Regions from separate parts of the Homo sapiens genome. Here all the other regions are linked to region 2. Evidence: promoter capture Hi-C in 16 types of primary human blood cells and fetal thymus (Javierre and others, 2016). All regions are on one chromosome and are shown on one strand. The core of a region is centred on a gene start or on the middle of the fragment in contact, and the rest is flanking DNA. Distances in the headings are between cores, read along the strand shown.

Region 1 (4,315 bases), core at 1,159-3,658, 1.2 Mb after region 2:
GAACAATGAGAACACATGGACAAAGGAAGGGGAACATCACACTCTGGGGACTGTTGTGGGGTGGGGGGAGACGTGAGGGATAGCATTGGGAGATATACCTAATGCTAGATGACGAGTTAGTGGGTGCAGTGCACCAGCATGGCACATGTATACATATGTAACTAACCTGCACAATGTGCACATGTACCCTAAAACTTAAAGTATAATAATAAAATAATAATAATAATAATAATATCTCATCACTGGATGTGTCTGATTATTTATGGTGTTACTTAGTTTTTTCCTCTATTGCCAGTATTTCCTGTAAACTGATTTTTTTAAGTCAGAAACTTGATGGGATTCAGGTGAAATATTTGGAGCAAGATTAATTCTTAGGTGAATTTGTCACAGAAGAGTACTTAGATAGTTCTTTCTGGTCATTGGCTTTGCTATTCTGTTTTTAGCAATCATTCCACCTTGTCACCTTCCTCCCTCTTTTGTCTAATTTTACAGTACTGTAATGGTAGGTATGAGAAGGATGCCCTCTCTTCCTAATAGAGTCAAGTGTTCATGGTCCTTTTGACAGGTCTTAAACTAAGAGTGTTTGTCTCTACTGACATCAGAAGTTGCAATTATCAGAAATCAGAATCAGCTCCAGATAAATCCTAAAAGAGGGCTCATGTTTTTCCTATGGACCCCAACAGTATATGTTTGGATCAGTTTCCAGAGACATAACAGTAGTTGTTGTTTAACTTCCAGAATCTATCAATAGCATAGATGAAAAAAGTAATACTTAAATATTACTGGGATTACTAATATTACAGCATTACTAATACAATATTGGAGCGATCGTAAATACTGTTCACAAGTATTGGTAAGAGTTCATTTGTCCTAGAATAGCTCATCCAGGAATCAGAGAAAGGAAATTGTTCTAAATTTTGTATTTTATCCCAAGTCCTTGTTCCCATCTGGTGTGTTATTAATGAATTAGGGCTCACTGTCATTGTCAGTAATATATTTGTACTAAGAGTGTTTGTTAACATAAAGCTTAATTCACAGTTGTGTGCACTTAAGTTTCCAGGAAAAAAAACCAAAAAAACAAAAAAACAAAAACCTCAGGTCCGGAGCTACAGCAGAGCAGTTACATATATTATTCAGAAATATAAATAAATAAAATGAGAAAAACATTTCTAAATGATGTGCAAGTTGAAAGGCCTTCCTGATATTGAAAAATAAACTGCCATCATTCAGATATAAATGAATCAAAGGCATGTTCTTTTCCAGTGGCTAATAGTGTCCATTTTTTCAGCCGTCTGCCTCACCATCACCGTCTGCAGGTGAATTGGCCAGTGTTTCCGTGCAGAATGTTAAAACGGCATCTACATTTCTCACTGCTCCTTTGATGTTATCTCCTTCAACTGCACAATGAAAACGCACAGCTACTGAAATGCCAGAGGGAACACACTCTGATTATAAATGTGCTGGGGTAAACAATGAGAGAAAACCCACATCCCCATCATCGCGACGGGCTCCTCACTTAGCCAAATACAACCCCACAGTTTTCTCCCACCCCTCTTGGGACGATGAACACACAGTATTGTGACCCCAGCTAATTTGTGTTAACCATACAGTCTATGACCTTGTAATAGAATGGGACAATTCAATCCATTATCTTAACCAACATTTATTGAGCATGTACTGTGTGCTTAGACCTGTGTGACCAACTAATCCTGGTTTACCTGGGACGTTCCCATTTTAGTGCTGAAAACTCGTCACCCTGGAATCCCCTAAGCTGTGGCAAATAGGACTATTAGTCACTTGACCCATACTGGACACTGTGGATAAAGATAAATTACAACCCTATTTCTGCCAACAAAAAGCATGTTGTCTAAAAGAGAATCAGAAAAATAAGCCAATTATTAGAGTTTGGAGTGATCAGTAGTTAGAATCATCAAGAGGGCATAGCGCAGCGCAGAAAGCTGAATCTAAATCTAAGCTGGGGACCCAAGAACGCACCCCGAAGAAGACAACGTTTGAGAATAATTTAAAGAATGAGTAGTGCAACATCCACCATTAAATTCTGCACATACTGAAAGGAGACACCTGTGGGGCGGCATGCAACTTTGTTCTTTATCTGAGTCTCAAAATCTGTGTATCTGGTTTAGATTCCCATAACGTGGAGGTAGGATTGTAGTACAAAATCAGAAGAAAGAGAATGCTCATTCTTAGTTTATTTTATTATGGGACAGAATAAACCTGACAGTATTTCAGTCCTAAAGGTCGTGGTCATTTTCTGAACCAGATATAAATATAAAACATGTATTTCTTTCTCTGAGGATTGTTTTGAAAAGAGTAAGAATGAGTGGCCTATTGTGGGCACGCCTTTAATGGAGGTTAGGGCACCAAAGTGGACACTACGTAGAACAAATAAAATGTGAGAAATTGTTTTTCACATTTTCACATTTTACTTTGAAAAAAAAGTCAAACTTAACTGAAAATTGCATTTTTTGAAAAATTTTATACTCTTCATCTAGCTTTGCCGGATATTAAAAAGTTGCCACATTTACCTTTTCTCTTTTTCTTTATACATCTGTATATTTATTGTTATTCTTGATTATTACTGAGCTGTTGTAGAGCAAGTTGTGGAAATTATACCCCTTTCATTTTAAATCCTCTAGCGTGTGTCTCCCAAGAGTACAGTATTCTCCTGTGTTACCACAGTATGATTTTATGTCCAGGAAATTTAACACTACATAATACTATTATCTAATAGAGAGCCAGCATACAAATTTTGCCCACTATCACAATAATGTCTTTTATTGGCAATTATCCTTCTGACCTAGCATTTAGTCCAGAGCCCTCTGCTGCATTTGGCTATCATGTCTCTTATTCTTCATCTGGAAGGACTCTTCAGCTTTTTCTTGTCTTTTATGATGGACATTTTTGATGAGTAGAGGCCAGCTGGTTTTCAGAATGCCCCTGAGTTTCGGTTTGTCTGATATGTCCTCATGATTAGATTCAGATTATAAATTTGGGGCTGCCTAAGTGATGTGTCCATCTTGGGACATCACATCAGGAGGAACAAGTGACCAATTTGTCCCCTTGCTTCATCACTTGATGAAGGTGGCAGCCTGCCAAGTTTCCACACTGTAAAATTACTAGTTTTCCTTTTGTAATTAATAAATAATCTGTGTTACTAGGTACTTTGAGATTCTGTAAATATCCCATTCCCCATCAAATGTTGACTCAACATTTTTTTACGTCTGTATTCGTTTGCTAAGGCCGTCATAACAAAGTACCACAAACTGAGTTACTTAAAACAACAGACATTTACTATCCCACAGTTCTGGGGCTGGAAGTCTGAAATCAAGGTGTCGGCGGGGTTGGGTCCTTCTGAGGGCTAGGAGGAAAGGATCCCTTCTAGACCTCTCTCCTTCGCTTGTAAATGGGCATCTTCTTCCTGTGTCTCTTCATATTTTCTTTCCTCTGTGTGTGTCTGTGTGCTCAAATTTCCCCTTTTTATCAGCACATATCATATTGAGTGAGGGCCCACCCACATGACTTCACTTTAACTTCTTTAGCTCTGTCATGACCCTATCTCAAAATAAAGTCACATTCTGAGGTACCAAGGGTTAGGAATTTAACACGTTAAGGGGAGGAAAAGAATTCAATTCATAACAGATGCATTCCAGCCATCTCTGGACTTTCCCAATGTTCATTATGAAGCCAAAATGAAATTAAATTCCTCTTCCTACCCTTTCTGCAAGTGAAAAGTCAGTGTTCAGCCTGAAGACACTTAAGATGCTGGCACTAAGCTTTTCCTGGCCATCCATCCACAGGGCTGTGAATTTTACACTTACCCGTATTTAGAATGACTTCTCTTTCAGTTCTAGAGATTTTTAAGAGGGTTTGGTTTATTGCTTACCACCCATGTGTGTGCTCTAAGGGCCTGTCATTTGCACTAGAGCATAAGTACCAGCAGCTGAATTAGTGGCAATATTTATTTTTTGCAGAAACAAGGAGTCCATTGGGAAAAGTATTTATCTCTTGGTGCATTTGTTTTGGTACAGTTGTCTGACATGCAAGCAAATGAATTCTAGAGACTATACTTGGGGTGTTCACAATAGGGACTCTCAGCAGGAGAGGGACCCGAAGCCAGGCGTGATGCTTCGTAAGTTTTTAATTCAAAGGATTGAAGGACAGAAAAGATGGAAAACAAAAAGCCAATTACCTGAGAACTCTCGTCTAGAGGAGGACTGAGGGAGAGGAAAGGAGGCTTTCCCGGGCAATAAACCCTGCAGTGCAGTGTCTCTCTCTTAAAACTGTTAAAGAGTTC
Region 2 (4,236 bases), core at 513-3,012:
TTTAAAACCACATATACTATGCTTTTACCCATTCTTCCTTTACCTCCATTTAAAATAATGAATTATCTGCTATACTGAGTCAGGGTAAATTACAATGAGTCCCAGGATAAGGTGGTAGGACAGGAAGTGTGTGTTTTTACCCTCTTCCTCTGGAGTGCATAATGCTTTACTATGATACAAAGAGAAGTTTGAAGGAAGTCACGTTGTCAAATATGACAGAAGTAATAACTTGACTGCAATTCCTGAGCCTATCAACCTCACCGTTTGTCCACAAACATAACCAGAATATATTTTATCTTGATTTCCGACTTGAGGGAAAATAAGTTCAGTGATTTAAGATCTGCCAGTTAGCATAAATATTGTGAAAGCAAAAAACTGTGCTAAAATTTTAAGAGAAAAAAAGTTAAGTGTGTTGCGTTTTCAGAAAGATTTAGCTATGGAGTTTTTTTTTTTGTTTTGTTTTGTTTTTTTTTTTTTTGGTTTTGTTTTGTCTTGACCTATGAGTTTGAAGAAGACAAAGTGGCTCTGTAAATAAGTCGACTTCATTTTTAAAGCGTTTGGAAAGGTTAAATGAGGTTGAATCTTGAGAGTCTTTTTGGTGGTTAGGAGAGGGGGAATTTATTAAAGAGAGGAAGACAATGTACCTAATATGTTGTGATGATAATGACAAACTCAAAGATTTAAACTTCATGAGTCATTCTGGTCATTCATATCATCATCAGGAAAACATCTTCATGTGTAGCTTCATAGGTGAGCTCCACAAAACTGTGCATTACCTTGTAGTAGTTTGTGAATAATGTGCTGACCTATGACACATAGCCACGTAAGTGAATAAACACTATTATTATTATTATTTTGTCTTGGTTTTCATTAAACTATCTTAGTAGTTTCAGGAGCTCTGGGTTTCAACACACACTTCTGCCAGCTGACTTTAGTGCGTCCATTAGCATAACAAAGTCAATTAGGCAAACCTGAATTTTCACTTTTATCCCGTTCACAGAACATCAGTGTAAATGGAGACAGGAAGAAGAAATTGGATTGATTCTCCACTTGAGAATTATGTTAACTTGGAAGAAAATGTTAAGTCTACTATGTGAGGGCATCTAGTGAGAGGGAAGGAATCACCTCCCTTCCCCCATTATGTCCCTTTATGCACCTCTGACCCTTGTGCTCTCCTTTTCTTGTTGCTTCTGTGGTCTGGTTGTTAGCTTTCCCGATCCTCCACACATTAGAAACCTAAGCATAATGATTTCTGATCGAAGGCTATGAGATATTTGAAATAAAAAAAGGGGAAATTGTTGAGTCTAGAACCAAACCTTTAAAAATTAAGAACTACCAGTCTGTAATGTGTGCCTTTAGAAAAAAACAAAGTCAAACAGAAATTAGGCAACTAGTTAGAGCCGTGATTGTGCTCTGCCACCCATGAACTCCCGTCTATGACTATTTCCACTCTGGCTTTGTGTTTCAGTAGGTCAGGGACACATATTAAGAGCAACAATTGGAACTGCGTTATCCTTTACCTCCATAAAAATACAGCTTAATAACATGTTAATGACTTAAAATTACCTTGTCTTTCTAGATTGTTTATTGATGTCATTTCAGATCGGTATAAAGGATGTGAAGTGAATAAGAAAATAGGTACGTTTCTTTTTCTTTTTTTCCCCTTTCTACCGACTAGGAAGAGATCCAGTCCAGGTTTTGCCTTTGACTCGGCCTGTGAATTTCGGCTGTGCAATGTGTAGCACGTTTCTTTCTCCCCCCTCCTTTCTCCTTCCCTCTTGCCTCCAGTGACTGTCTCCAGGATTTCTCTCTTCCTATTTCAGGAGGACTCTCACAGGCTCCCACAGCCTGTGTTAAGCTGAGGTTTCCCCTAGATCTCGTATATCCCCAACACATACCTCCACGCACACACATCCCCAAGAACCTCGAGCTCACACCAACAGACACACGCGCGCATACACACTCGCTCTCGCTTGTCCATCTCCCTCCCGGGGGAGCCGGCGCGCGCTCCCACCTTTGCCGCACACTCCGGCGAGCCGAGCCCGCAGCGCTCCAGGATTCTGCGGCTCGGAACTCGGATTGCAGCTCTGAACCCCCATGGTGGTTTTTTAAACACTTCTTTTCCTTCTCTTCCTCGTTTTGATTGCACCGTTTCCATCTGGGGGCTAGAGGAGCAAGGCAGCAGCCTTCCCAGCCAGCCCTTGTTGGCTTGCCATCGTCCATCTGGCTTATAAAAGTTTGCTGAGCGCAGTCCAGAGGGCTGCGCTGCTCGTCCCCTCGGCTGGCAGAAGGGGGTGACGCTGGGCAGCGGCGAGGAGCGCGCCGCTGCCTCTGGCGGGCTTTCGGCTTGAGGGGCAAGGTGAAGAGCGCACCGGCCGTGGGGTTTACCGAGCTGGATTTGTATGTTGCACCATGCCTTCTTGGATCGGGGCTGTGATTCTTCCCCTCTTGGGGCTGCTGCTCTCCCTCCCCGCCGGGGCGGATGTGAAGGCTCGGAGCTGCGGAGAGGTCCGCCAGGCGTACGGTGCCAAGGGATTCAGCCTGGCGGACATCCCCTACCAGGAGATCGCAGGTAAGCGCGGGCGCGCTGCAGGGGCAGGCTGCAGCCCTCGGCTGCCGCACGTCCCACTGGCCGCCCGGCGTCCCCTTCCTTCCCCCTGTTGCTGAGTTGGTGCTCACTTTCTGCCACCGCTATGGGACTCCGCGTCTCCGTGTTGGGCGGCGGATGCTCCTGCGGCTTCTTCGGCGGGGGAAGGTGTGCGTCTCCGCCGCCTCATTGTGTGCACACGCGGGAGCACCCTGGCTCCCGCCTCCCGCTGCTCTCGCGCCCTTCTACCCCTTAGTTGATGGCTCAGGCCCGGCTGGCCAGGGAGCCCGGGTCACTCCGGGGCGGCTGCAAGGCGCAGACGGAGAGCCGAGCCGGGCGCTCACTCCGCGTTCTGGTTCGGGCAAACTTGGAAGAACTGCGACCGCAGTTTGCCCAGCGCCACAGTCTGAGTGGCGCCTTCTCCACTCCCGCCCTTGCGCCGGCAGGGGCGGTGGAGAGACGCGGAGGGCTCCCCCAGCCCCTCTCTCCCCTATCCGTCCTTCGGGCGACAGAGCGCCCGGCGCTCGGGCCGGGGGCGGGCAAGGCTGGGAGGGACCCTCGCCGGGGACCTGGCCTCTGGACGCCGGCGTTTCAAGGCTGGTTTGGGGACTTCACGGGCTGCCTGTTTCAGATGTGGGGCGGGCTTTCCCGTTAGGGTTCCTCAGTGCTTCCCCAGTTGCTGTTGGCCACTCAGGGCCCGGGGACACCCTGCCACCCGGTCTGGAGCCGGCCTCGTCTGCCAGCGAACAGCCAACTTTAGCGGGTGGCTCAGCTGGGGATTCGGGTCCGGGTTCGGGGGCCCCGTGTCCCCCGCATGCCCGGCCACTGGCATTGCTCCACCAAGAGCTTGAGAGCGCCCACCCTTTCTCTCGGCGCCAGTGTGTGTAGCACTTGGTCTCCGACAACTTGCGCGGCAGTCTGGGTGCTTGTTTTCCGGCTCTTAGCTCCAACCGAATCCGAGCTTCTCTGGGGCTCTGTGAATGAAACGTGTCGGGGAGAGATAATCCTTTGGCTGCTAAAGAACAGAACTGAGAGAGGCCGAGGGAGGCCAGGAGATGCTGCGAGGGCGCGGGCTGCTCAAACCGGGCAGCTGAAGTCCTTAGTGACCTCAGATCGTCAAGTCAAAACGCTGAATTTCCACCAGCCTCTGTCTGCTTTTTGCCAAATAACTGGTGGATGGATGAAAAGCATTTTGCAGATATCTTAGAACATCACAGTTTCGATACGTTGAGGAATTACTATTTTCTTATGATTTTCAAGCTGTAGAAGTGAGGGTTTTTACTTACACTGAAATGAACACATTTAAATAAATTTGAGCATTGGCAAAGGGGGAAAAAAAGAGGCGCAAATTACCACGCTCATTATATAGAAGGAGCTTTTTCAGTTCAGAGCCAGACATTCCCTTTGCTGAGTCTAAGTTAGAATCTGTGGTGAATTATAAGCCTACTTTTCTATCCTTGTTACTTCTTCCTTCTTTTCCAGAACTCCTTAATTTGTTAATCAATGAATAGAGAGCGACTGTCCCCACAGCTCCTTAAGTTTCTTAACTCTCCTTCTCCTTTGTCTACTGTTATTTCATTCTTTTTAATTAATTGATAAGGATCAGCTTCGCTTTTTTTTTTCCCTCCCCAAATCTCAGGGAATTCAAC
Region 3 (4,215 bases), core at 1,493-3,992, 1.1 Mb after region 2:
GGATTACAGGCACCCACCACCACACCTGGCTAATTTTTGTATTTTTAGTAGAGACAGGGTTTCACCATTTGGTCAGGCTGGTCTCAAACTCCTGACCTCAAATGATCCTCCCGCGTCGGCCTCCCAAAGTGCTGGGATTACAGGGGTGAGCCACGGCGCCCGGCCGTGGCTCTTCTCTTTCTTCGGCCATCGTCCTCCAGGGTTGCACCATGTTCCACCCTCTCAGTCTTCTTCCCAACCAAGGCCAAGTGTCAGTTACCTTTTATTTTCATGCATGCACTATTGCTTTCTTCTGGAAGAGAAAATAATCCCCATACACATCGTACTGAAAGTGTAAAAATGCAAAAGTAGTCCATGAGGGAGTCATGTTTCAAGGGAAAAGTGTGAGACTATCTCTTGTGAAAATGAATGAGGAAATGAAATGATGAAATTGTATGCTATTAATATCAATCTAAATGTGTCTATGAAAAGAACAGAAATTGCTTCCCTACATTATCAGTTGCTACCTTCTCAGTGAGGCCTTCCATGAGCATCCACCTCCACACATGCTTCCAGTCCCCCCCTCCACTTTAGTTTTCACTTTAGCACATGCCATGTATATTTTTATTGTATAATTCTTTTTTTAACTTAATTTTAAGTTCTGGGATACATGCGCAGGACATGCAGGTTTGTTACATAGGTAAACGTGTGCCATAGTGGTTTGCTGCACCTATGAACCCATCACCTAGGTATTAAACCCCGCATGCATTAGCTATTTATCCTGATGCTCTCCCTCCCCCTGCCCCCACAACAGGCCCCAGTGTGTATTGTTCCCCTCCATGTGTCCATGTATTTTTATTGTTCAGCTCCCACTTATAAGTGAGAAAATGCTGTTTGGTTTTCTGTTCCTGTGTTAGCTCCATCCATGTCCCTGCAAAGGACATGTCCCTGCAGCTCCATCCATGTCCCTGCAAAGGACATGATCTTGTTCCTTTGTCTGGCTGCATAGTATTCCATGCTGTACATGTACCATATTTTCTTTATCCAGTCTATCCTTGATGGGCATTTAGGTTGATTCCATGTCTTTGCTATTGTAAATAGTGCTGTAATGAACATACGCGTGCATGTGTCTTTATAACCGGATGATTTATATTCCTTTGGGTGTATACCCAGTAATGGGATTGCTGAGTCAAATGGCATTTCTGGTTCTAGGTCTTTGAGGAATCACCACACTCTCTTCCACAATGCTATATATTTTACTGGTTTATTTCATTTGTTGTTGGAATCTTGTAATGCAAATGTAGGCTCCATAAAGGAAGGGGTTTTTGCCCTCTTTTGTTCACTACTTCATCCCTGGTACCTAGGAGAGTACCTGAAAAAGAGTAGATGTTTGATGAATGAACAAACAAACTCAGCTCGCTTCTCTAATTTACTTTATCTGCATGATCTGCCTGAAAGGATGAAGCAGCTGTGGATAGGCTAAGAGAAGAGCCATCACTCCTGGTGAAGGAAGTTACTTCTGGCAAGTAACATAAGCAAAGGCTTGAGCTGGCAGGGAGCACGTGGAAAGGGAAATAGGGCTCTGTGAGAAGTAGAGCCTAATTAAAATGAAAAATGTAGCTGGGCATGGTGGCATGCATCTGTAATCCAAGCTACTTGGAAGGTTGAGGCGGGAGGGTTGTTTGAGCCCGGGAGTTCAAAGCTGCAGTGAGCTAGGATTGCACCACTGGACTCTGGCCTGAACAACAGAGTGAGACCCTGTCTCAAAAAAAGAAAAGGTAAAAATGAAATAATGCATTTAAAATGGAAAATGTGTCATGGAGTTGCCAGTTAAGAATCCATGATTGATAGATGTGAACAAGACACCACTCGTCTGTCCCCTGTCATCAATCTGGACCATTGCCCACCCCACCTGGCTTTCCCAGCGCCATACCTGTGTATCCTTCTGGACCCCACCTGGGCTGTTCTAGCACCCTTCAATGATTCTCCAGAAAAAATACTAAACTGCTCACAGTAGACTATAAAACCCTGTAGGATCTCCTGGCCCACTTCTCTGGCCCCAACTCCTGCCTCTCCAACATATGCACTTTGCCTTTCAGTTGCACCAAACTAACTACTTTCCAAACCCTTAGTGGGTTTGGTCCACATGAGCCTTTCAACATGGGCTCCATCTGATTGGGAGCCCCAACACCAGCTCACTCTTCAAGATCAGCTCAGAGAGACAGAGAGACCCCTGTGGGAGCTTCTCCCTAGAGCCCCTACTTGGCAGACCCAGGACCCCTACTCTGTACCTCTGGACCATCTGATGCTCCGCGGGTAATACTTATCCATCAGAAGCTGCATGCATCGCCTGTAAGATACAGCGTGAACACACAATTCTGCGGCACTCTTGGCCAACTGATGGTACCCAGGCCTTGAGAATGCCTCCCTCGCTCCTTGAACCCTCCCTAGAAATTGATTGGTTTTCTCATTAAGTGGTCACAGCCCTAAGGTACCACCACCATGTGTCTATTTTCACTGGTCCTGAGTTAACCTGTTATGCCCTATCCCCTTTACTGTGGTGTAAGTGCCCTTACCTTTTCCCATTTGATCTCAGTTTAATTAACTTTGGGTCACTGGTTTCTGCTCTTGAAAATACATACTCTACACTCAGCTTTCATTCTTCTCAACTCAGTTCTTGTCAATGTTGACATCACGTTGTACTACTGTCTGTTTTTATGTCTATACCTCCACAGAAGAGAAAGCTCCTTGAAAGTAGAACCGATGTCTTTTCATCTTTGTAGCCCCAATGCCTAATGCGGTATCTTGCACAGAGAAAACCCTTAATGAATGTTTGTTGACTGAATGCATGAACACATGCAGCGATACAGCCATTGCCATTGGTCTTTAAGAGAAAGGACCATGGCACTTTGGGAAGCCGAGGAGGGTGAATTACCTGACATCAGGAGTTCGAGACCAGCCTGACCAGTATGGTGAAACCCCATCTCTACTAAAAATACAAAAATTAGCCTGGTGTGGTGGCATGCACCTGTAGTTCCAGCTACTCAGGAGGCTGAGACAGGAGAATCACTTGAACCCGGAAGCAGAGGTTGCAGTGAGCTGAGATAGTGCCACCGCACTCCAGCCTAGGCGACAGAGCAAGACTCCGTCAAAAAAAAAAAAAAAGAAAAAGGAAAAAAAGAAAAAGGACCATGAATTAAGTTATGGCAGCAGTACTACATATTCAAAAAACTAAGTAAAGAAAATAAAGACAGATTTTTTTTAATTACTGCAATCAGATTCATTGGTCATGAGAACCTGACCTATAGGCTTAGAAGAAGTGAAAAGATGGATATAAAAAGCTAGACTAAATCTGAAAATTAAAAGACCTTTCAGAGAAAGAAAACAAAGTTGAAGTCACAGGGTTGAGCTTGCCCTGGAGAGATCACACTGTCTACTCTTTAACCCCATGGGTCTGAGTTTTCAGATTTCCCGTGTATCAGGATGAGTTGGGGATACAAGTTAAGAGTGCGAATCTCCAGACTGCAGGTCTAGTACCTGTGTCTGTACTGAGAGCACATTGTGTGAACACCTTGGCATGGTGACCCCAGGACCACCTATGCCTTAACCATTTTTGATCAGGGAAAAGCTCTTTTCCTTGTAAAGATGACTACAGAGTTTCCATGATTTTCTAGGATACTCAGCATGTTTTTCCTGAAATCCTCTTTTTCATCATGTTTTAGGAAAGCCTGTTCTAATGGCTTTGTTTTCAGAAAAAAACTGTTTTTAAAATGTCAAGCGAAAGAGATTTCTAAGTGTCTCTTCTTGTTGTGGAGTCACCTTTTTGGACCAAAAAAAGTAAAATCAAGTTCTGGACAAAAGTTCTAGCTCCTCTGAAGTTTGTCCTTTCCTCTCGACCATATAAATAATGGAGAAGGGGAACTTACTGGTATATCTCATTTAGGCACTTGGATAAATAACACCCCACTTTCAGTTATCTTTGGAAAAAACATTGAGAAACCCTCTTACCTTTTTGAGGACAAAAGAAGCAAATTGAAAATGCACTAGGCCTTTTTTAAATATTTGTGATTTGGCTTGAAAAAGAAGGTCGGTTTTCCACATAGGAAATAATTTGAAGAAATAAAATGAAAACTATTTTCAAAAGACTGTTTAACTTTCCTTTAATTATACTAAAAAGAATAATAAAGAGCATGAAGCATATTGGAATTTGTCATTTATGGATCACCATGGCATAGT

The links. The method cuts DNA at HindIII sites, captures the fragments that hold promoters and counts their contacts. A CHiCAGO score of 5 or more calls a contact.
Region 1: a contact is called between a fragment that was not itself captured here and the fragment with the promoter of GPC6 in region 2, in 1 of 17 cell types (fetal thymus). The highest score is 6.0, in fetal thymus.
Region 3: a fragment that was not itself captured here is called in contact with the fragment with the promoter of GPC6 in region 2 in 1 of 17 cell types (M2 macrophages); the score reaches 5.7 in M2 macrophages.

What each region holds. Positions count from the first base shown.
Region 1 is chr13:94,377,990-94,382,304 of GRCh38, forward strand. All of the region lies in intron 6 of GPC6 (glypican 6), which reads left to right. Among named protein-coding and RNA genes, the nearest start is that of DCT, 100 kb to the right of the region's middle. The HindIII fragment of the contact is 2,768 bases long and covers 1,025-3,792 here.
Region 2 is chr13:93,225,045-93,229,280 of GRCh38, forward strand. It overlaps GPC6 (glypican 6), which reads left to right and starts at 1,763. Exons shown (of 9, transcript NM_005708.5): 1 at 1,763-2,572. The coding sequence starts at 2,413. RefSeq lists an enhancer at 2,356-3,198 and a silencer at 3,252-3,546. The HindIII fragment of the contact is 13,324 bases long and covers 1-4,236 here.
Region 3 is chr13:94,355,158-94,359,372 of GRCh38, forward strand. All of the region lies in intron 6 of GPC6 (glypican 6), which reads left to right. Among named protein-coding and RNA genes, the nearest start is that of DCT, 120 kb to the right of the region's middle. The HindIII fragment of the contact is 8,212 bases long and covers 1-4,215 here.